Regions from separate parts of the Homo sapiens genome. Here region 1 is linked to region 2. The links are contacts of gene promoters, found by promoter capture Hi-C in blood cells and fetal thymus (Javierre and others, 2016). All regions are on one chromosome and are shown on one strand. The core of a region is centred on a gene start or on the middle of the fragment in contact, and the rest is flanking DNA. Distances in the headings are between cores, read along the strand shown. Region 1 has its middle 7.3 kb from the start of SGO1. Region 2 holds the start of OXSM (3-oxoacyl-ACP synthase, mitochondrial).

Region 1 (7,761 bases), core at 4,686-7,185, 5.6 Mb after region 2:
CAGGCCACTTGTTATTATTTCAGAGAAGACTTCCCAGATCCCCCTGGCTAAGTTGTCACCCTGTTATGTATGCTCTCGCAGTACTGTGTTCCTCTTTTTCATCACATTTATCAGAATTATAGTTTTACATTTATCTTACATTCTCGGATAAACATCTGTCTTCACCACGGGACTATAAGGCCCATGAAGATGACACCAGCTGGGAAGAAGATTTTCACTTTTCATTTTATTCTATTTTGTACTGTTTGAATATTGTAGCCATCTATTAAAGGATTTTTTTAGAGGTAAAATCATGACTCATACAAATTAAAATGAATTGATGTCAGAATTTGATTTAACTCATCAATTATTGAGAAAATCAGTAAGATGTTATAACCAGTTCAAAGGAGAATTTGAAGAATCACATGAATATGGAAAATCAGGAATACTAAAATGAATTTGTAAATAGCTGAAAAATAGATCTATCCTCAGGACAACAATTAATTGAATTCTACTGGACACAATCATCTGCATTTCTATGGACAAAAAAATCATTTGCATTATTCCCTATTTTCTACAATATATAAAGTTGTAAAATAGCTCCAAAACAATGAGAAGCTGAGATAAGCTGGAAGACCACACTCGAGATGACACATAGTAATATTTTTTAACTACTTTAAACTTTTTCACAATTTTTCTTGCTAAATCTATGTATGTTTATTATATGCTAATAGGTAAGTAAATTATTACCTAATTTTTAATAATGTCAGCAAAAGCTATCTACATAGAGGATTATGGTATACCCTTCTATAAGTGTTTATATACCAGAAAACTCATAAATTTAAAGAATTAATTAGATCATTTGTGTCTTTATTTACTTCTTATTTTACATTAAGCATAATATACTACAACATACGATTACTTGTATAAGTTATTGGTCCACCTAAAATTATTCCTCCCTACCAAATTTGCACTTACATATGCCATTGTGATAAAGCAATTGGTAGAAATCAAAATCAGTACTATACATTAAAACAGTGCTAGGTGTATATTTAGAATTAACACCATAACTATTATATGCCTGTTGTTTACTTTTAAAGACAAGAATTATCTATACCCACACAATGCTCTTAATTTGCCTAGCAATGATTACTCCAGTGTTCCCCTTCAGATGGAAAAAAAAAATTCAAAAGGTTACTACCCACAATTTGAATAAAGAAAAGGAAAAGTAGCAATTTCCACAGACTATTATTCTTAATTAAAATTTTTATTGAGCTAATTTTAGATTCTCATATAGCTGTAAAAAATAATACAAAGAAATCCCTCTCACACTTTGCCCAATTTACCCTGTTGGTAACATTTTGCAAAACTATCATATAATATCATATCCAGGATATTGACATTGAAATCTTAGTCAGATTTCCTCAGTTTGACTAGCATTCATCTGTTTTGTGTATTTTGTGTATGTGTGTGTGTGTGTTAAGTTATATTATTGCCTGTGTAAGCTTATATATCCACTACCACAGTGGAGATAAAACACAAGGGTCTAAATGTAAGAAGTAAAACTATAAAACTCTTAAAAGAAAATATAGATATAAATCTTTGCAACCTTGTATTAGTCAATGATTTCTGAGAGATGACATTAAAACCACAAGGAACAGCAAATAAATAAATCAGTAGTAATTGAGAATTAAATTTTCAATAAAGTTATGGAAATTTAAAATTTTGTGCTTCAAAGTACTCCATTAAGAAAGTGAAAGAACCAGGCATGTGGTTTGAGCCTATAATTCCAGCTACTTAGGAGGCTGAGGTGGGAGGATACCTTGAAGCCAGGACTTTAAGCAACAGAGGGAGACTCTGACTCTAAAACAAAACAAAACAAAAAAGGTTGGGCACGGTGGCTCACGCCTGTAATCCCAGCGCTTTGGAAGGCTGAGGCGGAGAGATCACCTGAGGTCAGGAGTTCGAGACCAGCCTGGCCAACATGGCAAAACTCCGTCTCTACGGAAAATACAAAAATTAGCCAGGCATGGTGGTGCATGCCTGTAATCCCAGCTACTTGGGATGCTGAGGCAGGAGAATCGCTTGAATCCAAAGTGGGGGCAGAAGTTGCAGTGAGCCAGGATTGTGCCACTGCACTTCAGCCTGGGCGACAAGAGTGAAACTCCACCCCAGAAAAAAAAAAAAGAAAGAAAGGAAGTGAAAGGACAACCCACAGAATGGGAAAAAATTTTTGTAAATCATTTATCTGGTAAAGGATTTTTATTTAAAATATGTAAAGAACGCTTACAACTCAATAATAAAGACAACCCAATTTTTAAAAATGAGCAAACTGTCTCATAGACATTCCTCCAGATAAGATATACAAATGACTCATAAGTACATGAAAAGATGCTTGATATCATTAACCATCAGAGAAATGCAAATGAAATCCACAGTGAGATACCATTCATACCCACTAGGATGGCTAGAATCAAGAAGAAAGATAATGACAAGTGTTGGTGCGTAAACAGAGAAATTGGAACCCTCATGTACTGCTGGTGGGAAAGTAAAATGGTGCAGCTGCTTGGGAAAGCAATCTGGCAATTCCTCAGATGATTAAACATAGAGTTACTATGTGACCCAGCAACTCCATTCTTAATATATATCCAAGAGAAATGAGAATATATGTCCATACAAAAACCTGTACACAATTGTTCATAGATGCATTATTCATAATAGTTAAAAAGAAAAAAACAAGCTAAATATCCATTAGCATATAAATGGATAAATACAAAGTGGCAGAAAAATACAATGGCATATTTCATTGGACAATACAAGGGAATGAAATATGGTTATGTGATACATTATAGATAAACCTTAAAATCATTATGCTAAGTGAAAGAAGCCAGTCACAAAAGCCCAAATATTCCATGATTACATTTATATGAAATGTATCAAGTAGGCAAATCTAGAGAGAGAAAGTAGACTAGTGCTGTAGAGGGAGAAATAGGGAATTACTGCTAATACTTACAGGATTTCTTTTTGAGGTGGTGGAAATTTTCTAAAATTGATTGGAAGAATGGTTGCAAATATCTGTGAATATACAAAAAAAATTGAATTATACACTTTAAATTGGTGAATTTTATGGTATGTGAATTATATCTCAATTAATCTGTTATTTATTTTTTAGAGGTTGGGGGGAAACGGTATATCACAAGGATCCTTCAGGTTGCCCTAAATCATACCTACCTTCTTCCTACCACTCCCTATCTTTATTTCTATTCCATGGCAAACACTAGTCTGCCCTCCTTTCTAAAATTTTGTCATTTTAAAAATGTTATGCGGTCATATAAAAGAACAAGATCATGGCTTTTAAATGAACATGGATGGAGCTGGAGCCTATTATCCTTAGCAAATTAATGCAGCAACAGAAAACCTTATACCGCATGTTCTCAATTATAAGTGAGAGCTAAATGATGAGGACTCATGAACAGAAAGAGGGGAACAACAAACACTGAGGGGTACTGGGTTTACTACCTGGGTGAAGAAATAATCTGTGCAACAAACCCCTGTGACATGAGTTTACCTATGTAACAAACCTTCATATATACCCTCCAACCTAAAATAAAAGTTAAAAAAAAGAAGAAAAACTTATATAAATGAGATGATGACTGAAGGAATAAGTGAATATAATGAAAAAGCTCAGAAGTTGGTTTGCCTCTGAAACTGATGTAATAGTTCAAAGTGATTAAATTAATTCTCATTTATTTAAAGAAATCACCAGTAATTAAACCTATAGATAGCATAGGTCTCTAGATATGATGCACAGAAAGAGCAAACACCACTTTGTATTCCTGTCAAAAATGAATAACCTGAATCTAACTTCAAGGAAGCACTGGAGAAACCCAAACTGGGGGACATTCTACAAAATAACTGCCCCATACTTTTTTTTTTTTTTGAGACAATTTCATTCCCATTGCCAAAACTGGATTGCAATGGTGTGATCTTGGTTCACTGCAACATCTGCCTCCCAGGCTCAAGCGATTCTCCTGCCTCAGTTTCCCAAGCAGCTAGGACTGCAGGTGCATACCACTGTTGCCAGCTAGTTTTTGTATTTTTTTGTAGAGACAGGATTTTACCATGTTGCTCAAGCTGGTCTCGAACTCAACCTCAAGCAATCCACCTGCCTTGGCCTCCCAAAGTGACTGGCCTATACTCTTAAACACTGTTGATACCAAGAAAGATAAAAGAAAGATTTGATGATCAGATTAAAGAATAAAGAAATGTGACAACTGAATGTAATGCAATATCCTGAATTGGATCCCGGGCCAAAAAAAAAAAAAAAAAAAAAAAGCCATAAACAACATTACTGGGAAACTTGACAAAATTTAAAGACAAACTGTTGTTTAGGTAGGAATATCATATCTATGTTAAATTTCCTGATTTTGATCATTATATCGTAAAAAATATCTTTGCTCTTAGGGAACAAAGACTATATATTTATGGGTACAGGTACATAATGTCTACAACTTACTCTCAACTAATTCATGGGGAAAAAACTATGTTTAGGCTGGTCTGATGGTAGTGGGTTATCAGAACTTATTAATATTAGTGTCACTAAGGTTGATATATAACCCCCCACTAAATTTGACTGGCTTAAAAAAAACTATGTTTATATATAAAGAAATAAACATGATGAAATAAATGAGGCAAAACTTTCACAATAGGTTGTTTTGACTAAAAAAATAGTTCTTTTTACTCATGCAAGTATTTTCTCTTTCTTTCTTTTTTTTTTTTTTTGGAGACAAGAGTCTCGCTCTGTCTGGAGGGCAGTGGCTCAATCTCAGCTCACTGCAAACTCTGCCTCCCAGGTTCAAGTGATTCTCCTGCCTCAGCCTCCCAAGTAGCTGGGATTACAGGCGTGCACCACCACACCTGGCTAATTTTTGTATTTTTAGTAGAGACGGGATTTCACCATGTTGGCCAGGCTGGTCTCGAACTCCCGGCCTCAGGTGATCTGCCTGCCTCAGCCTCCCAAAGTGCTGGGATTACAGGTGTGAGCAAGTTTTTTCAAAGCTTATGATTTTATCAAAATAAAGTTACTCACCCCTGAAAAAAAAGTATTATATAAATGGAATCATACAGTATGTAACCTTTTGGGACTGACCCTTTTCACTCAATATAATTCCTAGGAGATTCATCCAAACTGTTTATGTATCAGTAGTTCATTCCTTTTTATTTATTTCCCTTGGTATGGATGTACCATACTCTCATTCCCTTTTTGAAGTACATCTGGGATTATTCCAGTTTTAAATTATTATCAATAAAGCCTGTACTTATGTCCAAGTTTTTGTGCAAACGTAAGTTTTTGTTTCTCTAAGGGAAAAAATCCCCAAGAGTGCAACTGCTGGGTTATATGGTAATCAAATATTTAGTTTGTTAAGAAACTGTCAATTGTTTTGCAGTTACTGTATCATTTTATATTCCCACCAGCAATGTCTGAGTGATCCAGTTTCTTTGCATCCTCACCAGCATTTGCTGTTGCCATTATTTTTTTATTTTAGCTATTCTGATAGATGTGTAGTGCTATCTCATTGTGGTTTTAATTTTCATTTCCCTGACGACTAACCATGTCAAAACATTTTTTTCACAGGCTTATCTGACATCGGGTTATCCTCTTTAGTAAAATTTCTGTGCATGTCTTTTCCACATTTTCTTTTTTTCTTTTTTTTTTTTTTTTGAGACGGACTCTTGCTCTGTTGCCAGGATGGAATGCAGTGGCATGATTTCGGCTCACTGCAACCTCCGCCTCCTGGGTTCAAGCAATTCTCATGCCTCAGCCTCCCTAGTAGCTGGAAATACAGGCACACACTGTGCCACACCCAGCTAATTTTTGTATATTTAGTAGACGGCGTTTCACCATGTTGGCCAGGATGATCTTGATCTCCTGACTTCGTGATCCGCCCGCCTGGGCCTCCCAAAGTGCTGGGATTACAGGCATGAGCCACTGTGCCCAGCCTTGCACATTTTCTAATTGGATTGTTTGCTTTTTCCCTGTTGAATTTGGATATTTATATACTTATTATAAAGACTAGTCCTTTGTTGGATAGGTGGTATGTTAGTTTCCTAGGGCTGCTATTACAAATTACCACAAGTGGGGTCACTTAAAACGAAAGAAATTTATTCTTTCACAGTTCTGAAGGCCAGACGTCCAAAGCCAAGGTGTCAGCAGGTGGTACTCCCTCTGGAGGCTCAGAACGAAATCCACTCCTTGCCTCTTCCAGTTTCTGGCAGCTGTCGGCATTCCTAGGTTTGTGACATCTTTCCCTCTGCTAGTCTTCACATCACCCTCTCTGTGCCTGGCTTGTGGCCTCATGACTATAATTTCTATCTTCATCTTCACATTGCCTTCTCTCCGTATGTGTTAAATTTCTCTCTGCCTTATTCTTACCAGGCTGCTTGAGATGGAACTAAACACTGATTTTGATCGTACTCGACTATTCTTATTGTCCTTTTAATGCTTATATCCCTTTTAATGATCCATAAGTGTTTACTGGTTCATGATATCAGCACATGACACAAAACCAAAATTAGCAACAAAATAACATAGCATCAATAATTTGTGTTTCTAGCATAAAGCCTTAACAAAAATGACATAACTCTGGTATGTGTGTATGTATCCCTTTTCCTCTGGGACTTACACTCACATTAGCCATCACAAAGACTTCCTCACATCTGTATGTGGTAGGCCTTTAGACATTTGAATGATTTGACAAAGGTCAAAGCAACATCAATAAATGTAAATGTATTTAAAGTATATAGTATCATGATTAAGGACACAGGCCCTGGAGTCAGATTGACAGCAAAGCTTGTACCTGGCTTCATGCTTACTAGATTCACCACATTACGCCTCTATTTCTTCATCTGAAAAAATAGGTTTATAAGCTTTATCACAAGGATAAAATGAGTTAATTCATATAAAGCACTAGTATTTTCCTGGCAGAAAGTATGCCCTCATTCAGTGTTAGCTGTTATAATTCAACTAATTGTTCACATGTCTCGCTATGCTAAGAGAAATGGGAACCACTAAAAAAAAAAAAAAAAAAAAAGACATGAATTCCACTATACAATAAATAATAGCCTTATGAAAGCAATACATATGCATATTTCTGAAAAACACAAATGAAACATAAAAACAGCATAAAGTGCTATCTATTCCTTGTAGTCTTCTGCCCACTTTATGCATGTACAAACTCTCCAAAGCCTGTCACTATTGAGCTGAAGAAAGTACTAAACTAATAAAAGCAGACGTCAAAAAAATACAGTCACAAAACATTTTGATGCCTTGCTGTATTTCAGTTTTGAAAATTTTGGTCACCAAATTACTAATTTTTGTATTGCTATTCAAGTTAATCCGCACCACATTCCATGATAACTATTGTATTAAACTTTCTCAAAAAATTTTTTTAAAATATTAATTCCAGAGAGGAGACACATTAATATATTTTTGATTGTCAAATAAACAGAGAGGAGTTTAATTTTTTTCTTTAAAAATAAGGAGATCACAAGAGAACATGAACCAGAAAGAAATAATAAAATACAAAATAATAATATTGATAAAAATTCAGGAGAAGTCCAAGCATGGTGGTTCATGCCTGTAATCCCAGCACTTTGGGACGCCAAGGCAGGAGAGTGGTTTGAGCCCAAGAGTTCGAGACAAGCCCAGGCAAAATAGCAAGACCCTGTCTCTACAGATTTTTTTTTTTTAATTAGCTGGACATAGCAATGCATGCCTATGGT
Region 2 (7,859 bases), core at 222-2,721:
GACAAAAAATGGGCTAACTTTATTGTAACCTTTTGTCTGAAAATTCAAAGCAGTTTCAGAAACAACTTCAAGAGGAATCATTCCCATGCCAATTGCAACACCAGTAGCCACTTGATCAGCTTCTGACTGAGGATGCCAGCCAGAATCCTTCATGGCTAATTCTGCAGCCCCAATGGCCATGATGGTGGGAGAAGACATGGACTTGATATCTGATTTGGACACAAAGTTTTGTTCATTGAACTGACCTTCATCACTACCTCTTGGCACATAAGCAGCAACACTGCAAGGGATACTCTTATACTCTTCACCAACCAGTGAAACAATTCCACTCTCTCCTCCGATAAGACGATCCCAAACCAGGTGAGTTCCAACACCAAGAGGAGTCACTAAGCCAATGCCTGTAATGACAACTCGCCTATGCAATCTGGATATTGGCACAGTTCCGAAAAACTTCCTTTTACTTCTTAACTGTTGGCATAATCTTGAACATAGAAGACGAGTGCTTGTAATTTTCAGGAAATTTTGCAGGCAGTTGGACATGATTAAGATTCAGATGATCAGAAACACATTCCTGTAAAAGACCACAACACACCTAGGAGGTATTCTTTTAAATAGCTTAAGGGCCTAAGGAAAAACATCCAAGGTGTTCCTTTGGGTGCTTGATATGAGCTGCTAATGAACACAGGGAAAATGTTACATACTTTCAATTTATACCTTAACATCAAACTATCTGTTTAAACTTACCTTCTTTTTTAGACCTTAAGTGCCGTCAGACATTTGAAGACAAATAAATGAATTGATGATTCATTCGAGTCACCAAAACAGTAATTCAATGAAAAATATAAAGGCACCTCCAGCCTGATTTGAGCTGCAGGAAGCATCCTTTGTCAGGATTACTGATAACTTCTTCTAAATAGCATTTCTGGTGTCAGTGGCACAGAAAACACATTTCAGGGCATATTCTTTTAAGTAAGTAAGTGGGCTTTATCAATCTTCAGTACTTAAGGATAACCAGCCTTTTCAAAACGCTACCCAGGGCCAAGAGCCCTAGACTGAGCGTCTGGATACATGGGTTGGCAATACACTCTGTGACCAAGCTTGCGATGGGGGAAGGGGACAAGTCTTTCCACTCCTCTAAACTTCTCCAATTGAATCATTGGTGGAAGGAGGGGTTACGACTAGTGGATCACTTCAAGGGTACTACGAAGGCCAGGGGCGGGAGTAAAAGAGTGTAGCCATTCCCTGTATCGCCTCTCAGGCACCACCACACATGTACACAGCCCGAAGAAGCATGGCGAGAGAAAAAGAAATCAGGCCCCAGGTCCTCGGACTCCCCTCTCGAAATTCAACCCCGACTTGATTTGAATGTAAAGGAGGAAAGGAGGGGCGAAGGAGGAGGGTAGCCAGCGATACCTGTAACGGGGCTACCCCGGACACTTCTCCACAGTCGGGGGCGATGACGCTCTCGAGCGCACGCGCACACGCACGTACGCTCATGCGCGCTCGCACGTACGCTCATGCGCTTTCCCACGCACGCGTCCCGTTCGACTCTCTTTCCGCCGGTTGACTTTAAGCCGCGTCACCTTGGCTGAGGTCAGACCGTGGGAGGCGGCTGGGTAGCTGTTTGCGTGAGCAGAGACGCCCCTCTCGGAACCTCAGTGACTCGCCGATAATCGAGGACCTGCCAATAACGCGATGAGGTAGCATTTTCACCCATCAAAAAGGCATTTTTCTTTGGCAGTGATAATGCCCAAATATTCCCTTTTGTCGGAGAAGGGACACCATCGTATTCTACTGGAATTGTAAGAAAGAATTAAGGAAATTCTCTGCAGTTTCAAAGTTATTGCTATAGCTCGCAACGTTATTAGTAATTGTGAGTAAAGTGGAATTAACCAAAATGGCCAACATCAGGAAATTTGTTGTGTATCTTGTGGTACATCCAAATGCCATGCAGCCGTTTAAAATAATTCTGCAGGTGAATATTTATTAATGAGATGTTGCGACTATTTGTTAGGAGACATAGTTACAAAACAGTATATATCCGTTTTTTCAAAAATAATTCTTTAAAGGTCTGCAAGATGTATACTGATTGTGATCTTTCCCTCCTTATTTTTGCTTAGCTTTATTTAATAAAGCTTTTCTACAATAAACAAATGTTTTTGTAATAAAGTTTTTACTTTTTAAAAGTTGTCACCAGGCTGTTCTGCCTATGGAGTAGTCATTCTTTGTTCCTTTACTTTCCTAATAAACTTCCTTTCACTTAAAAAAAAATTATCACCAGATTTGAGACAGTGCTCAAAAATTGTCTCCATTGTCACAATGGAGACATTTGTTTCTAAGTGTGAAAAATTCATTAACTGTTTGCTTAGAGCTGACTGCAAACCGATAAAGGGAAAATATAACATGAAAATGTAAAAAAGCAAGAAGTCGACAAGATGGTATTCATCGAACATCTGTTTTTCACATGCTATCCCAGGCGTGAGTTTTGTCCTTGCTCTTCTTTAGAAAAATGGTTGAGCATAGAATCTTCATCTGGACCTTCTAGTCATATTTATGGTTTTTTCTGGGCAATGCCTCTTGAAGCCATTGTTTCCAAGTAGAGTGCTCTGCATTCTTTCCTACCCCTACAGAAGAATGTGAGTCAAGCTTAGCTTTCCAGGTTGGTCCTGGATTTAAATGAGTTTGGAAATCTATTTTGTTTAAAATAATTCAGCAAAGCTCAGTTTGACCTTCGTCCCAGGCCTAACCAGTCACCTCTAGTTGATCCTCATTCAGTGACAAAGTAGAGTTTCTTGAAGAATTAAAACAAACACATGTGGTTATAAAGTAACACTTGATGAGTAAGTACCTAAACTTGATCTCTTTTCATTGCTGTCTTTAAAATAATAGTGTGAAAATACCTACAATATTTTCTCTGAAGCTGAACTCATAAGAAACATACAGTTTTAATGTGCTATTTCTTTTGTAATATCACAAAATCGTCTTGGCTAAGAGGTGACAAAATCTTTCAGAAAAATAAAAAGACCATCATTTTTGTATCTACCTCTTATCACCTTTTCTTTGATCTGGAAAAGGGTGGGAAATTTTATGATATTTAATGGCTTTACATATTTGGTACCATATTTCCTGCTACAATTCCATCGTGTCTTCTTGCACCAAAATCTTCAAATGGGCTCTGCTTATCCTACCCTCCTATTAAGACTTCCTAGGTTTGCCTTAAATTCTTTGTAATCTGATTCAAAACTATCTTTCCAATTATGGCTCCCATTCTCTATTAAATGAGCTTGCCACCCAGCAAACTGATTTTCTCACTATACATGTCTTGATTGACCCTAACTTTTCTCATCTCTGTGCTTTTGCTATTTTCAACAACCACTCATTTTCTTCCTATCAATGCTTGAAGTTTGAATGCAAAAATGAGTAGAGGTATGGCTCTTGCTTTCAAGAAGTTTATGGTCTAGTAAAGGGAGACACCCATAGAAACAAGTAAGTGCAAACTGTTGAAACAGGTGCTATAGTGGAATTATTATAACACAAAAGGGACAATGAGGTCTGTGCTACCTCGTAAAGTCAGAAAAGGCTTCAGAGAAATGATCCTTGAACTGCATCTTGGAAATGAATGTTTGTCTAGTAAATTGGGTGGGAAAGGGCATCCTGGCAGGAGGAGAACAAAGGCCTGGAGAAATGAAGTGTCATGGTATCTTCCACAAACAGCTAAATATGTGGCCCATGTCAAATTTGAAGTGTGGGACAAAGCAACAGTAAACGCATGAGAGTAAGGCAGGGCCCAGATCACAAAAGCCTGGGGTATCATACTGAGGACTTTGGATTTAATCCCGTAGTTCAGAGACCATATGCTAGCCTTCATGGTATAATTTGGAGTGCAACATTCTTTTATTGATTCTAAACTCCTCTAGAAAGGACATGGTAAACTCTCTCATTCCCTTCACTGGAGTCTCTCTTACTCCTCTTTGTCTTGAACAAAGCCACTTAAAATATTTAACTTACCAGCCTGGTTCCTGACACCATTTGACTTTAGAATGTGGATAGAGGGAGCCATAGAAAACTTTTTACCAGGAGAACAACATGATCAGATGGGTGCTTTAGAAAGATCACTATTGCACAAATGAGCAGGGTGGGTTGGAAGGATGTGGAAATGGACACAGGGAAGAAAGTTAAGAATGGATGAAACACGAGGCTCTGAAGGCAATGGCAAGGAGAGATCCAGGAGATGTTGAGAAGGAAACGTTACTAGGATATTGTACATGATTTAAGGAGGGTGGGGAGTCTCTCACAGGTAGCAAGTCCTCTCCTTTCTCACCTTCTCAACCTCTCAATTTAAGGCTTCTGTTCAAGTTGTCCCCCCTCACTGAAACTGCAGCCCACAGTGAAATTTTCCTCCCTCTAAACTAGTAGTTCTCAAAGTTTACTGTTAATCAAAATCACCTGAAGGGCTTGTTACCACACAGATTGCTGGGTCCCACCTTTAAATGTGGAGCTTCAGAATTTGTTTTTCTGACAAGTTTCCTGCTGATGCTGCTGTTGCTTGTCCAACCACTGCTCTAAACTTATGACTTCTATGAAAGTAGGGACCATACTTGTCTCCTTCACAGTGCTGAGCAACTAGTAGTCACTTCATAAATACATGATGAATGAATGAATTATGGAATGAATAAATCAACATTTATCCTTACATTTGATAGTACACATGCACTTTTTGTGCATTTCTCACCAAATGACTTTTGCGAAAACCAATGCCATAGCATTAATATTGTGATAACAATGTACAGTCCATAAAATCATGGAAATCACCATTTTAAAAAAATCATCTGAAATTTAAGTCCTTCCAAATAACTCTTTAGCAACACTTCTGTTAAAGTTCTTGAGTAACTGTAATCTCTTTTGAATATTGCCATTTATAAAGCTATTAAGGGAATCCATTATATAAAGGGACTTGGTCTCTCATTTTCCTGGCTGCTTCCCCCACTTCAGTCAAGTTGGAGATATTCTAATTCTTCCATTTCCTTTAGAAAAGCTGAATAAGCTACCCTAACTTTTATACCCATCGTTGTTTCAAACAACCAAAGAATGGGTACTAAATCAGCATTGAAATTCTTGTTCTTTTATTTATTTATTTTTGTTCCAAAATAAAGATTTTTTTTTTCCCCAGGATTTCACCTTTATTAAAAACATCATTTTTAGAGTTGACATATCATGGCGCTATTCTTTTTTTTTTTTGAGGTAGAGTCCCGCTCTGTCACCCAGGCTGGAGTGCAGTAGGGCAACCTCAGCTCACTGCAACCTCTGCCTCCTGGGTTCAAGCGATTCTCCTGCCTCTCAGCCTCCCAAGTAGCTGGGACTCCAGGTGTGCACTAACACGCCTGGCTAACACTATTCTTTAATAAAACAAAAAAGAAAGAACTCTGTAAATTTTCCCCACGATTGGTTTGGTGATATTAAAAAGTTAACCTCCATAAAAACCATTAGCAAGGGGAGGAGTTGAAGTCTTTCAGGAATTTGTATAGTGATTCACTATTGTGTGACTACATTGAGTGATTAACCAACAACTCTATTCAGTACCTGCTGTGTGCAAAGCAGTCTGAGACAGATGGCACAAGAGACTTTTAATCAAATAGGGAAGACAAAACTAATGATAACTTACAGTGAGATAGCGTTTTAGTTGAGGAAACAAACTATTATGAAGAGAAAAACAAAAGTCATTTTGTTCCCCCACAAAAGTACCCTATGACCATTCTATCTGTCAGGGGAAAGCCTTAGCTGACAGCTTTCTGCCCTTCACTTGACACCTCTGCTTCAATACCAGAGCATTTCCACTTTGGTGTTTTGTATATAGACAATCTTCCTATGTTTTTGTTTTTGTTTTTTTTTTGTAGAGATGGGGTCTTGCCATGTTGCCCAGGCTGGTCTTGAACTCCTGGGCTCAAGCGATCCACCTACCTCGGCCTCCCAAAGTATTGGGATTACAGGCGTGAGCCACCATGTCCAGCCCCTAAAATTTTATTTGAAAAAAAAAAAAAAGTTCTGTTGCATTTTTAAAAGTTACAAGTACTGTATAATATATACTATTCTCATATAATTAGTAAAGGATAAATAAATGTATCAATGGAAAAAGAAACCCAAATTAAGAGGAATAAAGTTTGTGATAGCTATATCTCCAGACCCAAGCCCCCAATCCATTGTGTAGTTGGACGAGACTACATTTCCCAGACTCTCCCCTTTTATCTTTTTATGTGTTTTTAAATTTTTTTTTTATTTTTTGTAAATCTGGCCTTACTGAAATACCCCCTTTTATCTTGATGAGGCCTCATTCTTAGTAATGATATGGTAGAGAAAATGCTGTGTGTCATTTCTGGGCTCATGTGGTTAAAAGTAGGTGTGACTTTTTTTTTTTTTTTTTTTTTTTTGTCCAAGCAGGCTGCCTGGATTTGTAAATAAAATTTCACTAGAACATAACCATGCCCATTTATTTTCAAGTATTGTCTGTGGAGCAACAGCTGCAGAGGCAGAGTTAAATAGTTGAGACAGACCTTATGGCTCACAAAGCCTAAAACACTATGTGGCCCTTTACAGAAAATGTTTCTTGACCCCTGTTCTAAGGTATGGAAGGAGACTGGGTCCACTGACATTATGACACCTGCATTATTAAAGTGTTATATGAGCCAGAAAGAAATTACTCTTGTGTTAAGCCCCTGAAAATTTTAGTTACAGACGGTAGTAACATACTACTATCTGTTGAACACACCATACTTGGAAGGTGGTCCAAAGATTTACATATTTATTAAAAGCGTACGTATATTTGGGAGACGAATAGTCATTGAACTGGATGTCATAGCTTAGGGTCTTGTTCGGAGATTCTGGAAGAAAATTTCAATTCTTAAAAGTAAACAGATGAAACATCAAGAAATTTAAAAGAGGTTATTCAGGCAAATCACTTATCTTAAGAAATAAAGTCAAGAAAAATACTTCGTGAGGTTGAAAAGGAATTTCTGCAAAGAAGGAAGCCACTGGTAAAGTACACTTTCAAGAACATGGTGGGGAAGAGACTGGATTAAAGTAGTAAGGGATGCATCTTCTAAGAGGAATAAAAGACCTTGATCACATGATCTACCTAAAAAACAAGTCACAAAATATTACTTACCCTTACTGTGTGGGATGCAAATTTTTATTCCCTTCCCGCCCCCGACATTCTATAATATTGCGTAATTATTATGCATGTGTTTTACGCTGGTCACCACGCGGTAAACCGAATCCACAACCCATTATTATGTCGCAACCTATGGTTTAAAAATACACTTCCTTACAGAGGAATCATATACTAGTTGAGCTGGAACTTAGATTTTCAGTCATTAGCCAAATTCTGAAAAGAATCCATATAACAAACCCAGCAGAGTTTATAGCCATGGTTTTGTTTTTGACGTTTGTTGCTCCTTCCTTCTGTAGTCTTTCATCCACATCTATGTAGAACGTCCTGACAATCTGCGAAGAGAAGGCTCTAAGGTGGTTTTATTTGTGGGGAAAGGAGGGAGGTACATGCGGTTTCTCCACCTTAATAGCTGGATCAATTAGGCTGGCCCCGGAGCGCAAAGGGATCCGGGTTTCTGAGAGGCACGTGCCAGCACCATTCGCCCGATACCTCTAGACCAAAGCCGGCCTCCCCTCCAGCCGAGCTCCTCCGTCCTAAAGGACTCGACATCCCCCTCCTCCAGGCCCACACCCCTCAGCCCCGGAGCCCAGGCCCCGCCTCTCCCTGCGGAACCCCTTCCCAACCTGTACGACCAGGCCCCAACTCTGGGTCGAAGCACCTCGCCCCTGCCGGCCGAGGCCCCCCACCTTCTTCC

Evidence for each region. The method cuts DNA at HindIII sites, captures the fragments that hold promoters and counts their contacts. A CHiCAGO score of 5 or more calls a contact.
Region 1: a contact is called between a fragment that was not itself captured here and the fragment with the promoter of OXSM in region 2, in 6 of 17 cell types (non-activated CD4 T cells, total CD8 T cells, naive CD8 T cells and 3 more). The highest score is 12.8, in non-activated CD4 T cells.

The regions. Positions count from the first base shown.
Region 1 is chr3:20,189,643-20,197,403 of GRCh38, reverse strand. It overlaps the pseudogene RNY4P22. Among named protein-coding and RNA genes, the nearest start is that of SGO1, 7.3 kb to the right of the region's middle. The HindIII fragment of the contact is 1,792 bases long and covers 5,040-6,831 here.
Region 2 is chr3:25,783,702-25,791,560 of GRCh38, reverse strand. It overlaps OXSM (3-oxoacyl-ACP synthase, mitochondrial), which reads right to left and starts at 1,471. Exons shown (of 3, transcript NM_017897.3): 1 at 1,414-1,471; 2 at 1-571. The coding sequence starts at 540. It also overlaps a transcript of NGLY1 not described here. RefSeq lists enhancers at 1,174-1,243, 1,254-1,323, 1,463-1,992 and a silencer at 1,426-1,645. The HindIII fragment of the contact is 1,038 bases long and covers 1,100-2,137 here.